Regions from separate parts of the Homo sapiens genome. Here all the other regions are linked to region 2. Evidence: promoter capture Hi-C in 16 types of primary human blood cells and fetal thymus (Javierre and others, 2016). All regions are on one chromosome and are shown on one strand. Each heading gives the region's core, a stretch centred on a gene start or on the middle of the fragment in contact. The rest is flanking DNA. Distances are from core to core; before and after follow the strand shown.

Region 1 (2,901 bases), core at 383-2,882, 270 kb before region 2:
GACAGGGTCTCACCACGTTGCCCAGGCTTGTCTCAAACTCCTGGGCTCAAGCAATCCAATCGACCGAGCCTCCCAAAGTGCAGGGATTACCATGCCTGGCCTCCCTGCTGATTTTAACGGTCTTCGTTAGCATATACTAAATCCCCATATAAAAAAAAAATAAAAAGAAACAAACAAAAAAATCCCCATATATATTTAAATCTGCCTCTGGACTCCATTCTTTCCTTTCCTATTTCTGTACCAATCTCATATTGCTTTAATTTGCATAGGTTAAAAAAATTTCTAATATCTGGTAGGGGTACTCCTTTAAAAATTGTTTGTTTGTTTGAGACAGGCTCTCACTCTGTCACCCAAGCTGGAGTGCAGTGGCGTGATTTCGGCTCACCGCAACCTCCATCTCCCAGGTTCAAGCGATTCTTCTGCCTCAGCCTCCCGAGTAACGGGGATTACAGACGCACGTCACCACGCCCAGCTAACTTTTCTATTTTTTGGTAGAGACAGTGTTTCGCCATGTTGGCCAGGCTGGTCTCGAACTCCTGACCTCAAGTGATCTGCCCACTTTGGCCTCCCAAAGGGCTGGGATTACAGGCGTAAGCCACTGTGCCAAGCCAAATAGCTTTTTTAAAATTTTATTTTTACTTCTTTTTTTTTGAGACCAAGTCTCTTTCTGTCGCCTAGGCAGGAGTGTAGTGGCGCCATCTCAGCTCACTGCAACCTGTGCCTCCTGGGTTCAAGCTATTCTCCTGTCTCAGCCTTCAAAGTAGCTGGGACTACAGGCATGCGCCACCACACCCAACTAATTTCTATATTTTTAGTAGAGACAGGGTTTCGCCATGTTGGCCAGGCTGGTCTCAAATTCTTGGCCTCATGTGATCCGCCCACCTCAGCCTCCCAAAGTGATGGGATTACAGGTGTGAGCCACCACACCTGGCCTATTTCTAAATTTCTATGAATTTTTAAATTGAGGTGAAATTGTAGCATAAAGTTAACCATTTTAAAGTGAACAATTCAGTGATATTTAGCACATTCACAATGTCATGTAACCATCACCTCCATCTAGTTCCAAAACATTTCATCGCCCCAAAACAAAACTCTATATTCATTAGGCAGTTTTTCCCATTTCACCCTCTCCACACATTTTTAACACATAAAAAATAAACTTGTTATAAAATCCCAAGCTTCAGGTTTACCAGGTATTAAGGAAGCTTAAAAATCAAGTCCCAGTTCAGAATCATACAGGTTTTCCAGATTTAGATCGTCCTCCGGCAGGGTGTCTGCATCCTCCAAGCATGATTCTACATCCCCAGTAGCCCAAGACTCAATTTGGATTCTGAAAATTTGCTGCTAAATTGCTTTGTGATTCTTCTCAAGTGTCTATGACTTCTGTTGTCTCTTGAACAACCTTGTTTTTGTTGTTGTTAATGTTTTTTGTTTGTTTTTGAGACAGGGTATCTCTCTGTCACCCAGGCTGGAGTGCAATGGTGCAATCGAGGCTCACTGCAGCCTCCACCTCCCGGGCTCAATCAATCCTCCTGCCTTAACCTCCCAAGCAGCTGGGACTACAGGTGCATGCCACCATGCCTAGCTAATTTTTTATTTTTATTTTTAGTAGAGATGAGGTCTCACTATGTTGCCCAGGCTGGTCTCAAACTCCTGGACTCAAGCAATCCTTCTGCCTCAGCCTCCCAAAGTGCTGGGATTACAGGTGTGAGACACTGTGTCTAGCCTTGAACAATCTTGCAAACCCTCTACTTTTTTTTCTTTTCCCCTGCCCACCCATCCATAGCATCTGGCACTGGCTTTGTACCATCACATGCCCATCAAATTATTGTTGATTGATTTCTTTCAAAATTTCCATATTAGACCCTCATCAGCGTGTCAGGAGACTGTCTGGGGCATGATTTAAGTGGGAGTTGAATTAAGAAATTTCAACACACTGTATCTTACTTTCAGATAATATGACACTACTGGTTGCCATTTATTTAAGTGCCTATTAATTGTCATACCCTACAAATGGTTTTATTTAATTCTTATAACAATCTCATGCAGCGGAAGCTTACTGATGATATTCACAGAGGTTAAGTGACTTGCCTAAAGTCCCTGGGCTTAATTGTCAGAGCCAAGCTTTGAACCCAGTTTTGTCTGACTACACAGCACTTTCTAACATGCTATATTGCCTCCATATACTTTCTCCATCAAAGCCCACCCATCATGTTATCCAGGTTTGTTTTTACTTCATTGTCATAGTCATGTTTGCCTAGAGGGAGCATCCAAGCCCTCCTGCTGAGGTATATGATGGAGATACTCAAGAAGCACCACAGAATCATTGCTTCTCTCACAGGTGACCTTACTTCCTGCCCTGGCCAAGCTATCAAGGATCAAGTTAATTCCTCGCTTTACTATGTTCTAGATAGTAAACCACGTTGGGCTGGCACGGTGGCTCATGCCTGTAATCCCAGCACTTTGAGAGGCCACGTAGGGAGCATCCCTTGAGTCCAGGAGTTCAAGACCAGCTTGGGCAACATAGGGAGACCCTGTCTCTACAAAAAATAACAAAAAATTAGCTGGGCGTTAGGCATGCATCTGTGGTCCTAGCTACTCGAGAGGCTGAGGTGGGAGGATCACTTAAGCCCAGTTACTTGAGCCAGGGAAGTCGAGGCTGCAGTGAGCTGGGATTGCCCCACTGCAGTCTGGCCTAGGCAACAGAGGAGACCCCGTCACCAAAAAAAAAAAAAAAAAAAAAAAAAAGTGTGCCGGATGGAGTCCCATACTGTCTGGCCCACGTGTTATAACTGTCACCTTAGCTAGAGCTGGAGCAAGAATATGGAATTGAATCCAGGCTCAGCCTCCACTGTAAGGATGGGAGACATTATTTTCCTAAGGAAGAGAATCCCAGTGAGT
Region 2 (2,700 bases), core at 142-2,641:
CAGTGATTGAGAAGCACCTGGGGAAGTTTGGTGTCGTTTGCTTGGAAGACCTCAGTCATGAAATTGCCGTCCCAGGGAAGCATTTCCAGGAGGTCTCATGGTTGTTACGCCCTTTCTACCTCTCAGTGGCCCGTCATGCTACCAAAAATACAGTGGGCTTCCTCAAGGAGATGGGCACACCTGGCTATCAGGGTGAACGCATCAGTCAGCTCATCCGCCAGCTGAACTAGACCCAGGTGCCAAACTGCAGTAAATTTTTATTAATGAAGTGGAAGCATGGGTAGTAGAAGCATGTGTTTTTGTTTTTTTGGGAATTTTTATCAAGTATCTTCAGAGAAGATTATTTCCAGCTTTATCTTCAAAAACTGGAAAGGAAGGGTCAAAGAAAAGACAGAAGCTCACGCCTGTAATCCCAGCACTTTGGGAGGCCGAGGCGGGTAGATCACTTGAGATCAGGAGTTCGAGACCAGCCTGGCCAACATAGTGAAACGCTGTCTCTACTAAAAATACAAAAATTAGCCGGGCATGGTGGCGTGCACCTGTAGTCCCAGCTACTTGGGAGGCTGAGGCAGGAGAATCACTTGAACCCGGGAGGCAGAGGTTGCAGTGAGCCAAGATCACGCCACTGCACTCCAGCCTGGGCAACAGAGCAAGACTCTCTCTCAAAAAAAAAAAAAAAAAAAAAAAGAAGGAGAAGAAACAGTAGCTTATGTTCATGGCAAGCACCTCTAATCACAGTCCAGTTTCCAAGGAAAAATTCCAGCGTTTTAGTTTAATGTCGGTAAGTGAGTAACTCTAGCATTTGTACAAGGCTCCCTAAGACTCCTGCACCAGTCGGCCAAGCCCAGGGACATAATTGAATTTGGAGATTCTTGGGGCCTTGTTTTGAAAAAGACTTGAAATAGGAAGAAAGGCCCAAAAATAAATGTTCACTTGTCTCTGAAAAAAAAAAATCTGTCTCAAAAAAAAAAAAAAGAGAGACTTAGGGGGGTCTAGGGGGCCTTCCCTGCTATCACCCCAGCACTGCCTAGGTGTTCTACCGGGAGAAGGGGGCCATCGAGCAGGGAGTTCTTACAGTTTTCTGAGACTTTCATGACCGTACCCCTTGAGAGTGTTGTAGGCAATATCCACTCCCCACCTACACACACACAAATTTTGCACCAAATTTTGGGGACTCTCGAAACCCAAGAACCCGGGTGATGGGACCCTAATCCCGACACTCCTTTGCAGCGCAGAGTCTGGGAGCGCAGAGCGCGGGGGCTGCGGGGTGGGCTGAAGGTGGGCAGTACCGGGGGGCGGCGGGCGGAGCGGGGCCGGGAGGGGGCGGTGCCGGAGGGCCAGCGGTGTGGCGCGCCGCCTGCAGGGGGCGCTTGCGGCGGCTCCGGTCGGAGACAATCGCGCTGAGCGGGCGCCGCAGCGGGAGCGGGAGCCGGAGCTGCGAGGCGCGGCGCAGAGCTGGGGCTGCGCGGGGCCGGGCGAGCGGGACCAGGCGGGAGCCATGGACCGCTAGGGCCCGGCCTAGCCCCGCGATGCCGCCGGCGAGTGGCCCCAGCGTCCTCGCGCGGCTGTTGCCGCTGCTGGGGCTGCTGCTCGGCAGCGCCTCCCGGGCTCCCGGCAAGTCGCCGCCGGAGCCCCCCAGCCCGCAGGGTGAGTCTCAGCCGGGAGGGGCCGCGATCGCGGGCCTGCGCCCCCTGATCAGGCTCCCGCCCGTCAGCCCCCTCTTCGCGGCGTTCGTGAATTGAGTGGTATTCTGTTCCCTGGATTCGGGTGGGGGGAGCTAAGCGATCTGGGGTTGGCGCTTCTGGGGGAAAGTGGAGGCGGGGAGAGGGAGGCCGTCCGGGGCGGGGGTCTTGGGGAGACACAATGGGTAGTGCGAGGGTCCCCAGGATCTGCGCCGCCGCCCTCTCCCTATTTGTTTTTCTCCCTCCTGGTCCGCGAGGCGCTGCTGCCTGAGCCATTGTCTACCGAAGACACCCGCCCAGGGGCGGGCTGGGGCGGGCGCCTGCTCCGCAGCCCCCTGCGGGTTGCTCGCTCCCGACCCTGGCGGGGTGGGGGCGCCGGCATCCGCTGCCACCCTAGGCCGGGACCGGAGGCTGGGAGCCTGGAGCTGGGTTTGAAGGGGGGAGGGGAGAAGGGGGAGTGGGTGAGGCTGTGGGCGGGATTGACTGCTCTAATGGGGTTCTTTGCCCTGGAGCCTGACAGCTCCCAGCCAGCCCCCCTGGTTTAGAGTTTGGGGTGCACCAAATAAATGCTTGTGAGCCTATGATGGAGGACGAGCCGCAGTTGTGGGCCTCTAAGAAAAGGGGGTACATTGTGATTCCCAGCTGAGGGAGCATGGCAGGCTTGTGGTCGTGGAGCCATGCTGAGCTAGCTGGCTGTGGGCAGTGCCGGCTGGGAGGGCAGGTGCCTGGGTCCCCCCCCATTCAGCAGGCCTCCTGGCATTCCTGTCCCCTGCCCGCCCCCATATCACCCCCTCCTCATCTCACATCTTCGCAGTGGAGGAGACCCTTCCCAGCGACTCACCGGGCGCAGGTGGGTGTGTGAGGTGGGGGTGGGGCCGGCTCCTGCAGCAGGAAAGGGTGGGGGAGCAAGACCCTGACAACACATCCCACAGGCAGGCCTGGACGCTTGGGGGCCTCCGCCCACTCCAGTCCTGAGTCCACCTCCCGGGTCCTGCTCTCCCTCTCCTGCCTGTGGGCC
Region 3 (2,700 bases), core at 15-2,514, 270 kb after region 2:
TCTGGCTCCTACAACCCCGGCATTGCCGGGAGCAGCAGGTTGACGGCTGTCCATTGCTTGGCTGAGTGATCAGAGTGCCACGGGCCAAGCCAAGCTTGACTAAGAACAGATAACCCTCCGGCCAGCTCAGGGCCTTGCTGAGCACTTCACGGGCTGGGGAGACCTGAGCTGGCTGCCATTTCCTTGCCACCATCGTGGGCTGTGGCTAGTTACCTCCAGGAAGGCCTTCTGCAGTTTCCAAGGACCCTTTCTCCTGGTGCTGGGGCAGGACATGGGTTGGGAATGAAGATGAGTATGTGTAACCCCACCCTCTGGCCACATCTGGCCACTTCTGCACATGTGGCTCTGGCCTTGTGGCCACAGAGTCGTCAGTATGGCTGGCGGGAAAACCACAGAGGAATGTTCCCAACCATGCCTGGGGGAGAAGAGGCTGGTGGGGACTGCTACATCATGCTGAGCTTTTACCTTCTCCCACCCCACCCTGCCTGCAGGGGGTTCCAGAGGCCATACTCCAGGCATGTGGGTGGCATGGCCTTGGCCTCGGCCTCCAGCAGGCCTTGCTCCTGCCTTGGTGACACCCATTCAGTGCTAGGTTCTCTGGAGAGATCCAGACCCATCTAAACAGGTGTGGGGGCCTCTCTTAGCCCACCCTTTGCCACCTCCTACCTCCCACCTCCCTCTCTTCTCTTTAAAAATTGTTCGGCTGGGTGTGGTCACTCATGCCTGTAATCCCAGCACTTTGGGAGGCCGAGGCGGGTGGATCACCTGAGGTCAGGAGTTCGAGACCAGCCTGACCTACATGGTGAAACCCCGTTTCTACTAAAAATACAAAAATTAGCTAGGCCTGGTGGTGGGCGCCTGTAATCCCAGCTGCTTGGGAGGCTGAGGCAGGAGAATTGCTTGAACCCAGGAGGCGGAGGTTGCAGTGAGACTCCATCTAAAAAAAAGGCCAGGGGCAGTGGCTCATGCCTGTAATCCCAGCCCTTTGGGAGGCCGAGGCGAGCGGATCACCTGAGGTCAAGAGTTTGAGACCAGCCTGGCCAACATGGTGAAACCTTGTGTCTACTAAAAATACAAAAAAATTAGCTGAGCGTGGTGGCGGGTGCCTGTAATCCCAGCTACTTGCGGGGCTGAGGCAGGAAAACTGCTTGAACCCAGGAGGCAGAGGTTGCAGTGAGCCGAGATTGTGCCACTGCACTCCAGCCTGGATGACAAGAGCAAAACTCCATCTCCAAAAAAAAAAAAAACAAAAAAAAACCAAAACTTGTTTTTTGTTTTTTTTTTCCCTCTCTCGCCTCTTAATGCTGGGGGGTGGTCTGGAGAGAGGCCAGCTCATGAAGGCAGAAGATACTGGTAGCCAGAAGGATTTCGGGGTCCTTTTTTCTCAGGCCTGGGCTGGAGTGGGCCACTTTGCCACAGGAGTCTTCCCAGCCCCTCGTGACCTCCCTGGGCTGTAGCGAGGAGAGTGAGGGCTTTCTTTGGAGAAAGAAGTAGAAGAGAAACAGGAATGGGTTGGCCTGCCTCTCTCACTTCCGCCTTCCCAGGCAGTGGTATCCTGCCTTCCCCTTCCTGGCTGGAGACTTTGTGGGGCTTGGGCTGGGCTTGGGGCTCCCTGCTGGTGTGGTGTTTGCCCAGTTGTCCTGGCAACCACAGGGCAGTGGTGAGGAGTGACATGCAGTGACCTGAGAACTGTGTGTAGGTACAAAGAAGTGGAGACCTAGCCCTCCCATAAGCCCATTGGAACTTCGTGCACTCCCTGAGCCACTCGGCCCATTGTCCATGTGGGGACTGGACCCAAGGTCTTGGAACCCAGCAGGCCCTCCACTGCCTTCCCCTCCCCAGCAGCCTTCCTCTCCCCAGCCGGTTCTCCGTAAGACCAGAGTTCTGAGATCTCTGCCGAAGCTCCTGCCCTCCCCCTGCTGTTACCCTTCTTCCTGTCTGATTCCCTTTCCTTTCCTGTCTCCTCCTCCCACCTCCTCCCTGCTGCCTGCCCGCCCATCCTCTTATTCCCCCTCCCCCCAGGCACAGCTGCTGTTTGGCTCACTCTATATATAGCGGCATTTTCAGGGTAATTACAATAAAACTGTTGAAAGGAGATAATCCAGCAAAGGAAGCGAGTCTTGACTCCCAGCCCCCTCCTGTCCCTGGCTTGGTGCAGCCCTGCACCCCCTTTCCCCGAGGCCTCCTGTTCCCACCCCACCCCCATTCCCACAGCCTCTCCCTCCTGCCCAGTCTGCCCCAGATAGGGATGAGGCCCCAGAAGGGGACAGAGGGTAGAGATATCCAGAAGGTCTCCACCAGCCTCTCCTGGGGTTACCAAGGGCACTGTCAGTCCTAGAACCAACCTCTGTGCCTCAGTTTCTCTTCTAGTATGAGGCTTTGCATGGGGCACGGTGTTGAGAAATGGGAGCGGGCACAGTGGTTAAAAGCTTAGGATTTGGACTCATATTCTAGTTATTGGATCACCTAGCTGTGTCTGGTTGCTACTTAAACTTCTCTAAACCTCAGTTTCCTCATCAGTAAAATGGGGTAATAATAGCATCTAAGTCATAGGGTAACTGTGATATTTAAATGAGTCATTGTAAAATGCCCAGAGATGTTGACTATCAATGATAATATTATGTGTTGAAGGCTGGGCAGTGGCTCACGCCTATAATCCCAGCACTTTGGGAGGCTGAGGTGGGAGGATCGCTTGAGCCT
Region 4 (2,700 bases), core at 201-2,700, 290 kb after region 2:
TGGAGCTGTGTGCAGAAGTTCGCCGCTGGTCTGGGCCGGTCCCTGCGAGAGGCCCAAGCAGGTGAGACCGAGGAGGCCGAGACTGTGAGCGCCATGGCCTTGCTGTCGGTGGGGGCCGAGCAGGCCCAGGCTGCGGCAGCCCGGGAACACAGCCCCAGGTAAGCAGCAACCCGCACCACCTCTCTGCCCTCACCCCTGCTGGTGCGCCCCACTCAATACCCTCCCCTGTGCTTGCCCCACAGGCCGGCAGAGGAGCCCATGGAGCAGGAGCCTGCCCTGTGACGCCCCGGCCCCCATCCCTCTGGGCTTCACCATTGTGATTTTGTTTATTTTTTCTATTAAAAACAAAAAGTCACACATTCAACAAGGTGTGCCGTGTGGGTCTCTCAGCCTTGCCCCTCCTGCTCCTCTACGCTGCCTCAGGCCCCCAGCCCTGTGGCTTCCACCTCAGCTCTAGAAGCCTGCTCCCTCTGCAGGGGGTGGTGGTGTCTTCCCAGCCCTGTCCCATGTGTCCCTCCCCCCATTTTCCTGCATTCTGTCTGTCCTTTTCCTCCTTGGAGCCTGGGCCAGCTCAAGGTGGGCACGGGGGCCCAGACAGTACTCTCCAGTTCTGGGGCCCCCCGAGTGAGGAGGGAACGGGAAGTCGGTGCCTTGGTTTCAGCTGATTTGGGGGGAAATGCCTTAATTTCACTCTCCTCCCTTCTCCAGCCTCAGGGGAGGATCTGGAGGATCCACTACTGTCTTTAAGATGCAGAGTGGAGGGGAGGTGGGCACCCACCCTGCGATTCTCCACCCTTTCCCCTTCTTTCGTCCTCACCATCTCTGCAGACCCCTCTCCTCCTCCTTCCTCTTGGTCTCAGCACTGATGGGAGGCTGGTGCCCAAGCTGTGGCCTGCAGTCTGTGAGGAGGGCTGTCTTGCCTCACACTCCTCACAGCCTACTTCCCCTTCCCCGGGGCTGAGAGGGTGAAAGTGTGTGGGGAAGGAGAGGACTGGTTTCCTGGGTTCTCAGGGGCCAGGAGGAGTAACAGAACCAGGTCTGCTCCCCACCTTACTCGGATGGCCTCCCTGCCCCTCTGCTGGCACAGCCTGGGCAAGGGGAGAAGGTGGTCCCTGCAGAGGGGCTCCAGGCTGGTGAGAGCCCCCCTGCTGTCAGGACCAGATTTTCCCAGCCATCCAGCATGCTGCGGGGAGAAGGGGCAGAGGCTCACCTCCCTCCTGGGGCCTTTTGTTTTGGATCCTGGGGATGGTGAGAATGGAGGTTCTAGAAGGGGTAAGGCCAGAACCCAGGGATCCAGGAGTCGGCTCTCAGCTGGAGCTTCCATACCTTCTGGGCTCCCTTTGCTGACCACCAGCCCAAGGGAGCTAAGACCAGGAGGGGGCTGGGCGCTGTCCCTTCTCTTTCCCAGGAGCCCTGCCAGGGGCTGTGGGCCTACAAGGCTTCCAGGGGATGCCATCCAGCCTGTAGGAAACCAAAGATGGGAAGTGGCTCCTAGGGGGCTGACTCTTCCTTCCTCCTCCTCCCCAGTACCACATATACTTTCTCTCCTTCTATCTCCAGGGCCCCACCAATCTGTTTACATATTTATTATCCTATGGGGGCCTGAGCAGGATTGAGGGAGCCAGGGGAGGGGCAGGAGTCCCAGCACCATCGGTTCATAGTGTGCTTGTGTGTTTGTTTTAGATCCTCCTGGGGGATGGGGATGGGGCCAGGCTCAGTGTACTAGGCCTCTCTGTGCTGAGCCCCAGGCTCCCGGCCCCTTACCCACTCTCTCCCTGTGGCTGGTCTGGTTCTCATGTAAACCCACTCCTTGCTTTGTCTCCCTGGATATGGATTTCAGTTAAGTATTTTGTAACCCGTTACACTGTGTGTCCTTGTGTAAATAAACTTGTTTCTGGCAGTGCCTTCTGGGGCCAATGTCTCTATTCTCTGGGCTCCCAAATGGAGTAGAGGTTCTCATCCTCCTTCCTAGCCAAACACACTACTCTTTTCTCCAGCCCCTGGACTAGAAGCCGATTTAGGAAACTGGAGGTTGGGGCGCAAGATCTGTCCTGTAAGTGAAAAGACAGGGTTATACCGAATATAGTCACAGCATCTCATGGGACCTCTCATGTGGCCTAGGCAGTGATGAGGCAGGGGACCCAGGGCTGAGAGGTCTCACCTGAGTTTACAGCCCTCTCCTTTCCTGCCTCTCTGCCCCTGGAAACAGGGCTGGAGATGGCACAGAGACTACTGGAGCAGCCTGGCAAAGGTTCCACTTGTGCACACACAGGCAAGGCCCATGGAGATGTGCGCATAGGCAAGAAAGGAATCTCAAAGTATTCAAGGGCTTTATTGGGGCCGCCCTGGCTGCCCCTCACAGTGTTGCAAGAACCCGCTGGTCTTGCTGTTGCCTTTGCTCTTTGGGGGCTTGAGAGGAAAGGCAGAGGGAGGACCAACTTATCTGGGAGAGAGAAGGCCCATCTTTGGGGCTAAGACCAGGTGGTGCGGAAGCAGATTTAGGGAGGGGAGGGCCTACTTAGGGGCTGGAAGGGGATGGGGCTGCCTCCTGGAGTGTGGTGGTCACAGAGTGTTGGCTTTGTGGGAGGGAAAGGAAAGGGAGGCACACAAGAAGTCAGGAAGAGTGGATGGGCGGTGCTTCCTGGGCACTGAACATGTGCACTGCCCAGGGCACGAGGGCCAGGACTAGGCATGGCCAGA
Region 5 (2,700 bases), core at 64-2,563, 310 kb before region 2:
TCACAGTTAAGTATACTCTCAAACTAATGCTTAAACAGAAAATAGAGGATCAGCTCATTAGGCTTTGAGTTTAGTTATCCACTTGACTCAGGTGCTAATAAATCCTTTACGTCTAAAATGTTCAGTATTGCAAAGGGCATATTTTTTTTGTTTGTTTTTTGAAACGGATCACTCTGTCACCCAGGCTGGAGTGCAGTGGCGCCATGTTGGCTCACTGCAACCTCCACCTTGCGGGTTCAAGTGATTCTCCTGCCTCCCCCTCCCAAGTAGCTGAGACTACAGGCGAGTGCCACCACACCCAGCTAATTTTTTGTATTTTTAGTAGAGATGGGGTTTCACCGTGTTAGCCAGGATGGTCTCGATCTCCTGACCTCGTGATCCACCCGCCTCAGCCTCCCAAAGTGCTGGGATTACAGGCGTGATCCACCGGCACCCAGCTGCAAAGGGCAAATTTTAAACAACCATATCTTCTATGGTAAGATTGAGTTTTAGGCCAGATTTTGGATTTCAGTCATAAATTCTCAACCCTCTAAAACTTTATAGTAGCAGATTATTCAAGTGAGAAGGACACTGATAACAACTCAAGGTAATTTTGCTTTTTCCATTAAAAAGAATGAGTACACCAAGTTCTTTCAGATTAGAAATGGCGGGAGCATCAGTTTTATCAGTTTCACTGCAAATTTTGTAAAAGTTTTATAATGTTTTCATAGGTTGTAATTCAGAAGTACAATGTTTTATAGGTTGTAATTCAGAAATACAAGTACATAAGAACCATCTGTTAGAGGATATGCCACTGAAAGGGACAACCGACTAATTTAAAAATTATCTATTGGGTGATATGATTAACAATATTTCAAAGAATTTTTTTAAGTGTTTGGTTCTTATTAACGGACTGGTATTTCATTTCTGACCAGTATCATGTAAAAGCTTCCCTAAAATTTTTATTCTGGTTTACACGGATTAGCATAAAGATAGAGCAAAAATTTCATCTTTGAAGGAGATCTGGTTAGATCCATGGATATCTGAATGGCATTGATTTATAAACCAACATTATTACTTGTGCGTTAATAATGAAATCTAAAACTTAGTATAAGTTCTTAAATGAAATTCATTTGACTTTCTGATATGAGTGACTCTTAAGGTTAGAAACATATGAATTTAGAAAAATGAAACCAAATGTTTTCAACAAAGTAATTTATTTTTTTCCTGAGACTAAATTCAGTACAGTATTTGTTTTTATAACATCCAACATGTCTTATGTTAAACTTAACCACTTTCTATGCAGTGACTGTGGTGAGATGATCTATTTTATTTGACTACCCTCAATGTAATTCATTTGGGTAGTTCTAAGGCATATCAGTGATCAAAATGTTTCTCCCTACAGTTACTCTTGCATTCTCAATCAGTTTCTTCTGCACATCATCTAAAGAAAATTTATGTGGTATGATTACACTCTTTTTTTTTTTAATACCAGAATTTCTAAAACTAAGAAAAACACTAACATTTAAAACATCAGTGTTTCTAGTCAAGGATATTTCAATTAAATTTCATCAGTACATTATAGTTTAACTCATGCTAGAAATGTTAAAACCCAAGATCTTCTGAGTCACATAATACCAACATTTCATATTAACGAATAAATTACTCAAGTTCTATACAAAGATACTAAGTGATGAGAAACAGAAAAAGTTAAGCTTTCAATAGTTTTAAAAAAATACAGAAGCAAACTAATGAACACAACTACGCAAAATATAGGCTAACCAATTGCAAGCTAAACTAGTTAGAGATTAACCTTTAAAAAATACATTTTAGAACTTAGAAGCAAACTAATGAACACAACTACACAAAATATACACTAACCAATTGCAAGCTAAACTAGTTAGAGATTAACCTTTAAAAAAATACATTTTAGAACTTCGTGACACCCTCATAAAAGGCAGCAAACTAAGGGTATTAAAACAGTAGTCATTATTTCAGTTACTGTGCATCAAGTCTAAAAGATCCAGATAAAGGGAATGTTTTGTGATTCAATTTAAATAACTTTAAAATTGGAAACATTTAACAATTGATAATATAATTAAAATTTAAAGAATATACACAAATGATCTGAATAGGTTTTATATTCAGTAACTTGCATGGTTTTTACACTGACACTTTTATCATTAATTTAGGAGAATCAGATGCATTTCCCTCCATATACCTAGGCATTAAGATTCCAAATTTATAAATATGGTAGTATAGTATTTTAAATATTAAGTTTGTACATGAATATTGGGTTTATCCGTATTTTCCTTTGTTTCCCAGGTATTATCCAGTTTTGTAAGGAAAACACTTTGATATCACAATCAAAACTTGTCTTGGTTACTAGGCTGTAGCCGTAATTGGGTTACAGTCACTTAGATTCATTATTTGGAATTATACTTAACTAAGACAAACCTAAATGAAATTTATCTCCTAGAAGAATTTCACATTTGCATTTACCTGCATGGCAGAATGAGTTTAAGCACATTTTAGCTGTTAGGAAATATTTAATTTACTTAAACTTGTTATCTGACTACTCAGAACTCTGAGTAGTCAACTGTACCTTTGCGTTTACTTAAAACTATATCGGATTCACTTCAAATAGAAGATTTTTAAATAGAAGTTAGACTTCATTAAGGTACTGGTATTAACTTTAAATCTGAAAGAAAACATACTGAA

Evidence for each region. Contacts are between HindIII fragments. The CHiCAGO score rates a contact against its expected background, and 5 or more counts as called.
Region 1: a contact is called between a fragment that was not itself captured here and the fragment with the promoter of FAM171A2 in region 2, in 1 of 17 cell types (endothelial precursors). The highest score is 5.7, in endothelial precursors.
Region 3: a contact is called between a fragment that was not itself captured here and the fragment with the promoter of FAM171A2 in region 2, in 1 of 17 cell types (neutrophils). The highest score is 7.0, in neutrophils.
Region 4: a contact is called between a fragment that was not itself captured here and the fragment with the promoter of FAM171A2 in region 2, in 1 of 17 cell types (neutrophils). The highest score is 5.6, in neutrophils.
Region 5: a contact is called between a fragment that was not itself captured here and the fragment with the promoter of FAM171A2 in region 2, in 1 of 17 cell types (endothelial precursors). The highest score is 5.6, in endothelial precursors.

Annotation. Positions count from the first base shown.
Region 1 is chr17:44,631,302-44,634,202 of GRCh38, reverse strand. No RefSeq gene overlaps it. Among named protein-coding and RNA genes, the nearest start is that of LINC01180, 18 kb to the left of the region's middle. The HindIII fragment of the contact is 850 bases long and covers 1,208-2,057 here.
Region 2 is chr17:44,362,544-44,365,243 of GRCh38, reverse strand. It overlaps FAM171A2 (family with sequence similarity 171 member A2), which reads left to right and starts at 1,391. Exons shown (of 8, transcript NM_198475.3): 1 at 1,391-1,647. The coding sequence starts at 1,530. It also overlaps the pseudogene RPL7L1P5. RefSeq lists a silencer at 1,300-1,679. The HindIII fragment of the contact is 8,364 bases long and covers 1-2,700 here.
Region 3 is chr17:44,095,023-44,097,722 of GRCh38, reverse strand. All of the region lies in intron 3 of HDAC5 (histone deacetylase 5), which reads left to right. Among named protein-coding and RNA genes, the nearest start is that of G6PC3, 26 kb to the right of the region's middle. RefSeq lists an enhancer at 1,603-2,363. The HindIII fragment of the contact is 2,335 bases long and covers 97-2,431 here.
Region 4 is chr17:44,075,958-44,078,657 of GRCh38, reverse strand. It overlaps G6PC3 (glucose-6-phosphatase catalytic subunit 3), which reads right to left. Exons shown (of 6, transcript NM_138387.4): 6 at 2,314-2,700. The coding sequence ends at 2,615. HDAC5 (histone deacetylase 5) reads left to right here. Exons shown (of 27, transcript NM_005474.5): 26 at 1-158; 27 at 243-1,905. The coding sequence ends at 282. Among named protein-coding and RNA genes, the nearest start is that of G6PC3, 6.6 kb to the right of the region's middle. RefSeq lists enhancers at 1,093-1,632, 2,650-2,700. The HindIII fragment of the contact is 3,690 bases long and covers 1-2,700 here.
Region 5 is chr17:44,674,279-44,676,978 of GRCh38, reverse strand. It overlaps MEIOC (meiosis specific with coiled-coil domain), which reads right to left. Exons shown (of 8, transcript NM_001145080.3): 8 at 1,178-2,700. Among named protein-coding and RNA genes, the nearest start is that of CCDC43, 14 kb to the left of the region's middle. The HindIII fragment of the contact is 767 bases long and covers 930-1,696 here.